Linked DNA regions of Homo sapiens: region 1 is linked to region 2. Evidence: promoter capture Hi-C in human tissues and cell types (Jung and others, 2019). All regions are on one chromosome and are shown on one strand. Each heading gives the region's core, a stretch centred on a gene start or on the middle of the fragment in contact. The rest is flanking DNA. Distances are from core to core; before and after follow the strand shown.

Region 1 (6,496 bases), core at 3,633-6,132, 290 kb before region 2:
CTCCTTCCCCAAGAATAAGCGATCAGAAATGTTTCCTACCTAGAGTCAAACTGGACAGTAGCTACTCTGTGTCTTAGGAGGCAGGCCCTTTGCTGGGTGCCAGAGGGTCCAGAGAGAGAAGAGATGCCTTTGCCAATCTGACGGAGGTACAGGCCTCACCCTAGAGGAAACCCCCGGCTAATGAGGGAGACAAGTCTCCTCCAACATCGCCATGCATGGAGAACCCTGGGCCAAGTTGCAGATGCAAGTAACAAGCAAGATGGCAGAGCAGAGAGGGAAACAGGAGAATAGAGATCTGCGGGAGGGGTGAGACTTGGAATGGCCTTTGTGAGGGTCCAGAGTGTGGGGAGGAGCATGGCTCAGAGACTGCCTGGGATATGCTCCCCAGGATCAGGGTCTGAAGAGTGCAGTTCCACAAGATATGGGGCTGGAGGGGATGGGAGAAAGGCATAAAGTCTCTTGAAGCCTGTGATTGGGAAATTTTTATCCAATGCCAACAGATGTGTCTGGGTAGAGAAAGGGCAAGATAAAACTGATGCTTCATGATGACAATTCCAGTGATAATTTCATTATAGGGTAACAGGGAAGGAGTCGAGGAGAGAGGGGGCTGGAGTCAGGGAGGTCATTAAGGAGGCTGCTGTGGGCATCCAGGCTGATGGGATGAACAAGCCAATCAGGAGACACAAGAAGAGAAGGGCATATAAACCTGAGAGAAGTTGTGGGGGCAAACCTGGGCCGGGAGAGGGAGAGGCAGGATGAAGAATACAAGAGCGATAGGCAGGACCATGGGAGCAGGAATGAGATGTGGGGGTTGTCTTGACCGACAGAAGAAGTCTCTGACAGAAGTCTTTGGCTGAAAGAGAAGTTGCTGAGAATGGGGAAAGAGACTATTTGGTGAAAGCTCAACCACTCAGTTCTCATTTATTGAATCTGAAGACAGGACATCTGCTTGGCAAAAACTTGTGGAAAGCAGGGGCTGTGGGTGTGGAGACCCCACCTCAAGTGATGCCCAGCCTATTGGAATCAAGGAAGGAAATGCATCTTAAACTGCTTGATAATTCTTCTACCTTCCCAAACTCCAGAAGGGTGGGAAGAAAAAACCTAGGACAGAATCTCAAAACAAAACAAAGCAAAACCCACAAAGAAGGGCTGGGACAAAGCCCAGGAACAAGGAAAGATGACACAGTAGAAAACATTAGAGTGGTGGGAGAAAAGCAATGGCCCACAACTCCACTTTTTACAGACTAAGGACCATTCCAAGCCCCTTACGGTAGTCACTGTGCATCCTCACAGCAGTTATGAGCCCTATTGTGAGGATGGGACTTCCTTAGCTACTAAGTGGTAAACCAGGACCGAATCCCACAAAGTCAGACTCCAAGGCCATGCTCTTAACCATAGTGCCTGCTGTCTCTCAGAGCGGAAAGTAGCCCTGGAACAGCAAGAGAGAGGTGCAGCAGCCACCCAGGGGAGGCCCCTGACAGTTGTCACAATAATCCCTGCACTCTGAGCTCCATCACTCCTCTCGGAAGCTTTAAGGATGGGCTTCTGTGTTTGGGGATTTTGTTGGTGGTTTTTGTTTTGTTTTGGTTGGTTTTTTTGGTCCAGAAAGTGGTCTCTCTTTCCTTCCCAGTCTCCATTTCAAATGTCTTTCCTTTTCTAGGATGTGCTTCCTGAGATCTAACCTAAGTCCTTCTAGCTGCAGCCACAATCCTTTCCCCAGGTGTTGTGCCATCGGAAAAGTTGCACAATGGCCATGTATACCCTTTCTGTGCTGCACCTTGTTGGAGGCTTGAGGTCTGATTCAGTCCTCTTCTAGCTCCTGCTTCTCCAACCTCCTTCTCCATGCCACAAAGTTCTGTTCTTACTTCTCTCTCACATTCCAGAGCCAGCCCCTCCCTTCCCCCACCACCTCAAATCCAGGCTCCAAGCTGGCAAACACCCACGGGAGGGCATTTCCCACAATCCCTTTCTCTTTGCCCTTTCAAGGTTCTGATGGGGGAGGGGAGGAAGAGGGGCCACCAGATGCACTCTCTCCCTAAAGAATGGTGGCAAACATGTAGGCTAAACTCAAATGAGGGAAGAAAAGCATTGAACTCAGCCTGCTGGAGAGACCGAAGTGACATGGCAAACTCCCATTCCCAGGAGCTGCCCAGCCAACCACCCACCATTGGGTGCTAAAACACTTAGATTTTAAATCTCCCTTTCCTCTCCAATCTTTCTGTAGTTTCATCTCAACGATGTGCCTTGGCTGATTCCTTCTCTGCCCCCTTCCAGGGCCCCACTGCTATCCTGGACAGCTTGGCCTCAGCCTGGACAGTAGCACTGACCAGTCAGGCAAGAGAAGAATCTAGGCCGAGGAGGGGAGGGAGAGTGGAGGTTTTTTTCTTCCGTCCTAAATAACCTGTGGCTGGAAAGCTTAGGGACTCCATTGCCCAATGTCTCTTTTCCTCCCCACCAATGCCAGGAGGCTCGGCCTATCTTTCCATCTTGTGTGCAGAAACCAAGAGTTTTACCAGGAGGCTCAGGAGTATCCTTTGAGGAAACAGATCTTTCTGCATGACCCACCCCCTAGAGCTTTAAACCCCCTATCCTGCCAATCACAGAATGACTCCAGAGGACTTCATCTGAGCCCACCGTGATCCAAGTGTCCCAGCCTCTCTGGTCCCAAGGAAGGTCAAGGGAAGGAAGGTCCCCGGGTCCTCTGCCAGTCACTTCCTTGTAGCTCAAGCCAACCAAGCTGGAGCTGTAAATGAGCTTATGCACAGTGATGCAGGTGGGAGGGAGCTAGAATGTGGTTCAATGGGGCACACGGAGGAGGTAGGGGATACCAGCGGGCAGATCATTAATCCCCTCACACAAACATATGCACCCATAGACTGGATGTGGGTCAGATGTTGGGGAAGATGGATTTATTTTTTCCTCAGGGTAAGGGATAGCAGAGGGGTTCTGCATTAGAGCCACAGAGGGGCTGGAACCATAACCCTGCTACCCCTGCCACTCCCACTCCCCACCCACCCTCCATCGGTGGAGTCATTGCCATTTGATATCCGCTGAGACAACTTGGCTGCTCAGGCTCTGAGTGGGGGGTGGGGGGATGGCTCAGAAAACAGCAGCTCCTTTCAGGACCCAGGTTGGCAAGGGCTTTGGGAGGCTGGACCAGCCCAGATCACCCCCCAACACCCTCTCCCTCCCTTCCTCCCTTGCCACCACCACCAAAGGACTGGGGGAAGGCAGCGGGGAAAGGAGTTGGCACTGCCTGGGCCGTGCCTATTGCCTCCACAATCCAGCCCTGGACCCTCTCCCTGGCATGATGCCTTCCATCCCCCTCCTCCCTCGTTTCTTCCTCCCTGAAGAACCAGCTATGAGTCAGGATGCCTGGTTCCTTCCAAACTTGGTCCCCTATACCCAGTCTACCCCCAGAGAAATTTACAAGCCCTACCACTTGGCACAGGATGGTACCCACCATCATGCCAGGAATATGTTCAAAAATCCTTGGAGATTAGGGAGAGAGTTTCAGGATGAAACTAAATTGAACTCACTGGTGGCTGCCCACCCCTCCTGGGGCTAATTTCATGACAACCACTCCAGGCCCTCCTCAGCACCCTTAAACAAGGCCATCTCTCACATGGGGGCCCTAAATCTCCTGTCATTATCTCCCTCCCACCCAGGCAGCCTAAAGCAGTCCCAGTGGGGAGAAAAAAAATTCAAACACCACAGCAAGAGCAGACTGGCCAGACATCTTTAGTCAGAATTTGTATTGGTAAGCAACAGAAGCAGGCTTTAAGCACTGGCCTCTTTGGGGTCCAAATCTGCACCAGCTTCTTCCCCATCTGCCTCACCCTGCCTGGGGCACTCACTGGAATTAAACTTCAAGACACCAGAACCCACCCTCACTTTTTCCCAGTGTTGTCCTTCTACCCATTCCTGGGTTCAGCTCTCCTCCCCCAAATCAGGAAGTTCCATCCTTCATCTGTTCCCTAACACAGGTGCCCTGGGTTAGTTCTGATGAGAGGAGGAATGGAATGGGAAGGGGCGTCTCCATCTGGAGGGTGAGTTTATAGAACCCAATCTGCCCTTCTCACTCTAGCAGAAGTGGCCCTGCTCCTTTCCTTCTGGAAATCCCAGTGCGAAACAGCTGGGGTGAGGGTGAGGGGCCATGAGGAGGGATGTCTTAAAATGGGAGCCACTCAGAATAGAAGGAAGAGATTGGGTGGGCAGGGGTCTGGAGCACACCAGGCTTTGGTGGCTCCCCGGTTTAAGCTGCCAGTATCTGTTTTTCTCCCCATGTGGGAACTAGCGATCATGGGTGTCACTATGTGATTGTCACTGTATGGGGAGTGGGGGAGGGGCTGGGGATGGGAGTAACCTGTCCATATGGGGAGGAGGGCGCACTGTCTGTTGTGCCTGTGTATGGGGTGCCTGGTTATGTGTGGTTGTCACTGTATTAACTAGAGGAGCAGGGATGCAACTGCTGGTCTGCCCAGTGGGAGGGGGCATCGGGAAAGCCCCTTCCTTAGATGAAAGGGCTGAGGTGACCAGCCTGGCTAGTTTCCTCGTGGGGAGCCCTTCCCAGGAGGCTCCATTTGGGACTGCCCAAGGCGGGAGGCAGGGGAACAAGACGGTGGTACCGCTGAGGCCAGGCAGGGTAGGGACTGAGGATCTGGGACCCCGATGTCTCTGGAGAGTTAGGGGGACAGGACCCGGCCGGGGCGGCAGAACTCCTTCATCAGGGCCAGGGTCTTACCTTGGGTCCGAGGTGGAGTGGCCCCTTGGATGGGCCGCGGGGCAGCGGGACAGATGGACGGACGGGGCGGGCAGGAGTTAGGAGCAGAGCTGTGCGACGGGCCGGGCCAGGACTCTTAAACCCGGAGCTGGGATCAGATAAGGGCTTGTCCGGGGGCCGGGGCCGGGGTCGGGCCGGCCGGGGGCAGAGCTGGGCCGGGCCGGGCCGCCCCCTCCCTCCGCAGCGCCGGAGCCAAACTTTGTGTGAATGGAGGGGCCCGGAGGGGGGCCGGGCAGGCGGGGGCGGGGGGCTCCGAACAGACCAATGGGAGAGTGGAGCGCCAGGCTCGAGCCGCCGAGATTGGAGGGTCTTGGGCAGGGGGCGGGGCGTGCGGGGCAAGGAAGCGGAGACCCAGACAGCTGCAGGCGCAGAGAGAAATATCCAAAGACAGAGACCCAGACAGACCCGGGGAGAAAGAGAGATGAAGAGACGATATGCGAAACGATAGGAGCTGAGCTGGCAGGGTGACAGGGGAAGGGAGAAGGAAGAAAAGGGAGGCGGTCCTGTCAGCGATGGGTTACGAGAGCTGGAGCCGGGGGGCGGGACTGGGACCGAGTTAACGAAGTGGAAATGAATTCAGGACCGGCCCAGTGGCCCTGCAGGCAGCGCCGAAGGCGGCGCCTGGAAGTGAGATTGGGGCGGAGTAGGCCTGGGCTCCCTGAGCCACAGGACTGTATCTTTGGGCACAATTCCCGTGTTGTTCACCGTCTCCTAAGTCCCCGGTGCGGTGCTGGGTGAGAGACGCGCAGCACACGGTGCCCACCTGCAGCGGCTTTCTCTGTAAGGAAAGATAAGGCCGGAACCCTCAGCGAAGTGCGGGAGGTACTGAAGGCTGTAAAAGGGAGAGGTCATTCTACTCAGAGGGCTCCTAGCAGATGTGGGAGGAAAGAGGTAACATCTGATTAGGGTCCCAAAGGAAGCAGAAGATTCAGGTGCTGAGAGATGGTCCCCAGGACTCTGTTGCATTTAAGGCAGAGGGAACAACGTAGCAGAGTCCTGGGGAGACGTGAAAATACAAGTTCACTTGGGAAACAGCATCAAACTGTCCCATTTACTAGATTAGAGTGCAGGGTGATGGTTCTCAACCCTTTCATCACCAAAGATTTCTTTAATTTTCTGAATCTATGTGTTGAGAGGTTTTAATTCACCCCCACCCCCAGCATTTATTTAAAAAGAATATAATTATTTCCTCATTTCTGATCATCATAAACATTTAACTGCTAATCAATAACCAGTGTTACCATATTGAATTGCTATAAATTCAGGTAAAAAAAGGAAAGAAACTAGGAATGTAGCTTAGTTTAACCACTAAAAGCCATAAGATAAGTAAATGTCCATTCAAATAGCCTCATTGGAGAAGCTGGAAGGACGGGACTAAAGGTTAGGCACCATAGGCAGTGTTTGTGTTAAGGGGAACATCCGGAAGAAACACAGAGTTGTGCTGATTTGTGGTCAGGCCAGAGTTTCTGTAGGCTACGGAGAGCAATTGAAGGTTCTTGGGAAGGATGGAGTAGGAGAAAGCTATGGCATTTTAGGAAAATTAATCGGGAGGTGACAAAATAGTTTGAACCAAGTGGATATAGTAGGCAAGTAGACGATAGAAAATAATTGCAATAATATAAGCATGAAGAGATGACAGCCCAAATCAGCGTGGCAATGGTGAAAAGTGGAACACAGAAAATGAATTGGAGTACAGAAAAATCAAAAGAAAAT
Region 2 (6,560 bases), core at 482-2,981:
GAGGATAAAGCAGAGTCTTGAAGACAGTAGAATTTACTTATAAATATGAAAAAAAAGGTCTCTTCTTTATGCCCCAATTTTCTAACTCTAAAAAGAATGGTGGAAGCTACAGGAAATTCAGAGAGCCTTGGTCCCAAAAGGCTTGAGGGATAAAGGTCTACTAGAGATAGGGTAGCTCCCCAAGCAGGGAACTTGAAGTATAGAGCATTTCAGGCCTAAAAGAGACCTCCTGCTTCCCATCCCCCAGCCTCCCATCAGTTAATCTCCCTCGTACCCCCCAGGTGGAGGATCTCCTGGCCACATTGGAGAAGAGTGGTGCTGGTGTCCCTGCTGTCATCCTCAGGAGGCCAAATCAGTCCCAGCCTCTCCCACCATCTTCCCTGCAGCGATTTCTTCGAGCTCGAAACATCTCTGGCGTTGTTCTGGCTGACCACTCTGGTGCCTTCCATAACAAGTAAGAATCACTTGGCCCTGCACCCTCTTCATTCTTGAAGAGAGTCTATTCTGCAGTCTGGGAGGAAGGTCACTGCCCTCCGCTTTCCCACACTACCCCCTCCAGAACTTCAGGTCCATCTGTATTCTTTGCTCAGTGGCGTTTTCACATCTGAACTGAAACCCTTATTTGTTTGACTGGATATTCATCTTAGAAACTCATCCTCACCCTTAGCCCTTTACTGTCAACAATCCTTGGTTATGGTTCCACTGCTCCCTAGCTCTCCAGGGTCCTGAGTTCCTCAGGGTTGCCAGCAGAGGGCATCATCTCAAACACAAGCATGGGAAGGATGGTGGGGGCCCTTTGGCTAGAAGACAGAAAGCAGTCCTTCTCTGGAACTCACCCAGAGGTGCCAGAAACAGTATTCATACTCTGTGAAATGTACCATGTTCTTGCCATGTGGTAGATGGCCATGGTTCAGTGCGAGGGTAAAAGTGCCTCCTATAGCTGATGGGGCTCCAGAGATACAAAGGGTAACTCTGGGTTACCCTTTAACTGCTCCTAACTTGAGGCCTTGGATAACAGGGGACTTCTTACTCAGGCTGGATTGCCAAGCTTCCCGAGGGCCAAATGAGTTTCGTAGTGAAAATGCTTGAGCTCTATTTCTGACCCCAGCCAAGTAGCACCTTCTCATTCATTTAGGGGAGTGACCGTCCTAGCACTTAGGGTCAGCTGTCTTCTCTAAAGCTATCCTTGTACCACTTTGGGGCAAGTGAAGATTCATCATTTGAACACATTTTGGATTTGATTATGTAGCTGACTTGACTTTGTGTGGGACAGGGATTTACTGATGGTAAAGACTGTGGAGCTCAGCCTCTCTTTTAAGATCTATCTCCTTGGGGCTCCATAAGGATCATCATGGTGATTTTATCAGTGTATTCTTATATATCAGTGAGCAGACCTGATCCTAAGACCTGCTAATCACCTCCTGCTCCCAGCTACCCTAAATATAAATGTTCATTGGAACAGTTATACAACTGATCTCATGATACATGGCAGAGTTCTCTGAAAATCATCTTAGCCATCCCCCATATCTCCAGCCCAAATGATGTAGAAGAGTCTCTCCTTTGTTTAAAGATCTGAGCTCATTCAGCTTTTCTACCTTGTCTGTCAGGAAAGTCTTTAATTTTCACTAACCACCTCACCCTCACTCCTACCTCCCTGTTCTCCACACCTTCTGCAATATGGGATCCTGATTGTCTCTCACCCCTTTCTTCTGATGCTGAAAATGAGATACTGAGTCCCTGCATAAGGAGCATTTGAGGGAGGAAAGGGGCAGAGCCCTGGCTAAATGTAGCCAAGGCTCATGCCGGCTTTCCTGGCAGATATTACCAGAGTATTTACGACACTGCTGAGAACATTAATGTGAGCTATCCCGAATGGCTGAGCCCTGAAGAGGACCTGAACTTTGTAACAGACACTGCCAAGGTAGCACTGAGCCAGGCTGGGTGGGAGCCTGGGGCACACAGTGAAGATGCTAGCATTTGAGGATAGGAGAGGTGGGCCATTCAGCCCCCTCCTCACCTACCACAGGCCCTGGCAGATGTGGCCACGGTGCTGGGACGTGCTCTGTATGAGCTTGCAGGAGGAACCAACTTCAGCGACACAGTTCAGGCTGATCCCCAAACGGTAAGCAGATGGGCCCTAGCTCCTTCTTTCTATTTACACAGCAAGCTGTCCCTATCCTCCCTTGCCCTAGTGTCCCAAACCTTGGAATTCCACATGACTGTTGATGCCGGTGAGAATGCCTCATGCCCCAGAGAGCTCTTGGGTGGGCCTCATCTGCATCTTATGAGCCAGCTACTGTCTCCCAACTCCAGTCTATCTGGCCAGTCTGGTTCCTGCCCCATGACTGGGTCTCCACTGATAATTCTTTCCCTGGGCTCCCTTCAAGTCACAGGGTTTTCTCTCTTTACTGTTCCAATCCTAGGTTACCCGCCTGCTCTATGGGTTCCTGATTAAAGCCAACAACTCATGGTTCCAGTCTATCCTCAGGCAGGACCTAAGGTCCTACTTGGGTAAGCATCTGGTGTGGGAATGGGACCCTTAGCTGAGGAAAGGGATAGAGAAAAAGTCTTTTGGTTTAACCTTTATTATTTTTTTTCTTTTTCCTCTCTGTTTTTCTTACCCCCTGTTTTCCTTTCTTTCTTCTCATATTTGATGGATCCTTTTCCATTGCCCTTCTTTCTGGCTGCTGCCAATCTTGGGCTTTTCCTATTTCACCCACCATCCACCCACCAAATCTTCCCTTCCCTTTGGTCTGCACTCAGGTGACGGGCCTCTTCAACATTACATCGCTGTCTCCAGCCCCACCAACACCACTTATGTTGTACAGTATGCCTTGGCAAATTTGACTGGCACAGTGGTCAACCTCACCCGAGAGCAGTGCCAGGATCCAAGTAAAGTCCCAAGTGAAAACAAGGATGTGAGTGGTGGTGGGTGTTGGAAGTGCCCTGGGGCCCCTTTCCCTTGGGAAAGTTGGAGGTTCTTCTAGACCTAGTTAGACCCAGGGGATTGGGATGGAGAGGTGGAGAGATGCAGTCCTCAGCAATTGGGTGTTGAAAAGCCTGGGTGAAAATGGACCATCTGAAGGGTAAAGGGACAGCAGCCAGTTAGCTCAATTGGTTAGAGCATGGCACTGATAGAGGGTAGAGGGAACGAGTGAGAAGAGGATCACCCTAGCCGTGTGTTGTGGCGCATCTTCTGTGCAGCTGTATGAGTACTCATGGGTCCAGGGCCCTTTGCATTCTAATGAGACGGACCGACTCCCCCGGTGTGTGCGTTCTACTGCACGATTAGCCAGGGCCTTGTCTCCTGCCTTTGAACTGAGTCAGTGGAGCTCTACTGAATACTCTACATGGACTGAGAGCCGCTGGAAAGATATCCGTGCCCGGATATTTCTCATCGCCAGCAAAGAGCTTGAGGTGAGATGGGGCAGGGGCATAGGTGGCAGGGATCTGTTTGACTTCTTTCTCTGCTTTCTTGTGTCATATAGCCCTTTCCATCTCCCATTTGCCCCACATTTGTAGCAAAAGCCTACTGCAAATCTGTCCCTGGTCAGCCAGCATGTTCCCTTAGGAGGCCTTTTTTTTGAGATGGAGTTTCATTCTTGTTGCTCAAGCTGGAGTGCAATGGCACAATCTCAGCTTACTGCAACCTCCGTCCCTTGGGTTTAAGCAGTTCTCCTGCCTCAGCCTTTCGAGTAGCTGGGATTACAGGCATGTGTCACCACACCCAGCTAATTTTTTTTTATTTTTAGTAGAGATGGGTTTCACCATGTTGGTCAGGCTAGTCTTAAACTCCTGACCTCAGGTGATCCACCTTTCTTGGCCTCCCAAAGTGCTGGGATTATAGGCGTGAGCCACTGCACCCGGCCAGGAGGCCTTTCTTCACAGATAGTTTGAGTAGGTGTTCATTCTGGAGAGCCCCTGTGGATCCCAGAACTCTTTCACAGCTTCAACTCCCGGCTGGCATTCCCCATCTGGCACAGCTGGGATGAGTCAGTCTAATGTACCGAGCTCCTGTCACAAGTCAGTAATGTAAGTGCCGCAAGGGAACCAAAGCCATGGGCCCTCCTTTCAAAATGCCTAAAATCTAAGTAATACAAGATGGAAGCAAGAACAGAGATGCTTTACTTCTCTTTTCAAATGGGGAGACAAAGTCTGTAGGCTGGAGAGATGTTGCCCATGATTATTCCATAGTTGGTGCTTAGAGCCAGCATCCGAATTCCCATGGCTCCAAACCCCAAACAGTTATCCAAAAAACTGCACTGAGTTCTGAGAATGCCTTTGTCCTTTCCTGCCCTCCCTCCCCCTGCAGTTGATCACCCTGACAGTGGGCTTCGGCATCCTCATCTTCTCCCTCATCGTCACCTACTGCATCAATGCCAAAGCTGATGTCCTTTTCATTGCTCCCCGGGAGCCAGGAGCTGTGTCATACTGAGGAGGACCCCAGCTTTTCTTGCCAGCTCAGCAGTTCACTTCCTAGAGCATCTGTCCCACTGGGACACAACCACTAATTTGTCACTGGAACCTCCCTGGGCCTGTCTCAGATTGGGATTAACATAAAAGAGTGGAACTATCCAAAAGAGACAGGGAGAAATAAATAAATTGCCTCCCTTCCTCCGCTCCCCTTTCCCATCACCCCTTCCCCATTTCCTCTTCCTTCTCTACTCATGCCAGATTTTGGGATTACAAATAGAAGCTTCTTGCTCCTGTTTAACTCCCTAGTTACCCACCCTAATTTGCCCTTCAGGACCCTTCTACTTTTTCCTTCCTGCCCTGTACCTCTCTCTGCTCCTCACCCCCACCCCTGTACCCAGCCACCTTCCTGACTGGGAAGGACATAAAAGGTTTAATGTCAGGGTCAAACTACATTGAGCCCCTGAGGACAGGGGCATCTCTGGGCTGAGCCTACTGTCTCCTTCCCACTGTCCTTTCTCCAGGCCCTCAGATGGCACATTAGGGTGGGCGTGCTGCGGGTGGGTATCCCACCTCCAGCCCACAGTGCTCAGTTGTACTTTTTATTAAGCTGTAATATCTATTTTTGTTTTTGTCTTTTTCCTTTATTCTTTTTGTAAATATATATATAATGAGTTTCATTAAAATAGATTATCCCACACGACTTGTACTGCTAGTTATTCTTCCCAGGCCACCTTGTTCAGCGAGCCTAGACTGGAAGTCATGAAGTTATCTTTTATGCTATCATCTTGGGCTCCAGAGGACCCAAGGAGTAAGGCTCTGTCAAAAACAGTTGAAGTCCTTTCAAATTGCAGAGCCCTGGTTCTCCTCTTGTAAGAACAATGTTAACATAGTTTCTTCTCACTTTGTAATGAACGGGCATTTTTTTTTTTTTTTTTTTTTTTTTTTTTTTTTGAGATGGAGTCTTGCTCTGTCACCCAGGCTGGAGTGCAGTGGCGCGATCTCGGCTCACTGCAAGCTCCACCTCCCGGGTTCACGCCATTCTCTTGCCTCAGCTTCCCAAGTAGCTGGGACTACAGGCACCCACCACCACGCCCAGCTAATTTTTTTTGTATTTTTAGTAGAGACGGAGTTTCACCATGTTAGCCAGGATGGTCGTGACCTCCTGACCTTGTGATCCACCCACCTCGACCTCCCAAAGTGCTGGGATTACAGGCGTGAGCCACCGCGCCCGGCCATGAACAGGCATTTCTTTATTCACTCTGAGACACTGGCTGGGGTACAGAGATGAAGAGAATATAACCCTAACCCTCGAGTAGCTCAGCTGGGATGAGAAGAGAGACAGACATTCTCACAACTACATGTAATCCAGTGTAATAAAAGGAATAATTGCAGCATATCCCAAGTGCTCTGGTAGCACATAGTGAAACTCAGGACCATGTCAGGGGTGACATTCAAGTGATGATTTAAAGCGTTCACCAGTTGTGGAAGCACAGAGTCAAGAAAAGGAGTGAGTCATGTTTGGGAGATGGTAAGTTCAGTGTGTCTGAGCCATAAGCATCAGCAGGAGGCGAGGTTGGGCTAAATCCCGAAGTTCTTGGCTGGCATGCTGCTAAGGAGTTTGGGTTTCTGTTAATGGTGGGCCTTTTGTAGGCCAAAACAAGTTTGGACTGTTTTAGAAAAAGAACATCACCTCTGTAGAGATCCTCAAATTCCCTGGGTCTTCACGGAGGCAAAATTCTGGAGTATAGCAGCACTGCTAAATAATCGTGGGCAGCGGCTGAGTCAGCCAAGGGGGAAAGAGAACCTGCAGGAGCAGAAGCCTAAACCCAGCCTTCACTCCACTGCTGGCCAGGAGGCTGCTTCTGACACGTGCCTGAATACTCGCAGCAATGGAAAGGGACTGGCTGGCAGTATTCACAGGGTCTCAAGCACTCCTCTTAGTTCCCTGATTGGACTACTTACCTTTTCAAATCCTGCTGAGAAGAGGTGATTTTTCTCCAGGTTTCTCTCCAAGTTCCCCTGGGGGGAAGGGAGACATGTTTGGAGTTCAAGAGATGAAATACACCCTGCTACTTCTCCCCCACCCCAACCCTCCCAGTTTGAGCTGGAGAGGCTGTGTGATGCTGGCGGAAGTCGAGCACAGC

Evidence for each region. The method cuts DNA at HindIII sites, captures the fragments that hold promoters and counts their contacts. A contact is called where the count stands out against the background at its distance.
Region 1: a contact is called between the fragment with the promoter of KCNJ10 here and a fragment that was not itself captured in region 2, in 1 of the 25 tissues and cell types used here (lymphoblastoid cells).

The regions. Positions count from the first base shown.
Region 1 is chr1:160,065,278-160,071,773 of GRCh38, forward strand. KCNJ10 (potassium inwardly rectifying channel subfamily J member 10) reads right to left here and starts at 4,883. Exons shown (of 2, transcript NM_002241.5): 1 at 4,745-4,883. RefSeq lists an enhancer at 4,265-4,434, a cis regulatory region at 4,350 and a silencer at 4,845-5,074. The HindIII fragment of the contact is 5,259 bases long and covers 1,973-6,496 here.
Region 2 is chr1:160,353,837-160,360,396 of GRCh38, forward strand. NCSTN (nicastrin) reads left to right here. Exons shown (of 17, transcript NM_015331.3): 11 at 282-454; 12 at 1,819-1,921; 13 at 2,027-2,122; 14 at 2,424-2,511; 15 at 2,764-2,918; 16 at 3,205-3,417; 17 at 4,313-5,113. The coding sequence ends at 4,435. Among named protein-coding and RNA genes, the nearest start is that of NHLH1, 10 kb to the right of the region's middle. The HindIII fragment of the contact is 8,042 bases long and covers 1-5,752 here.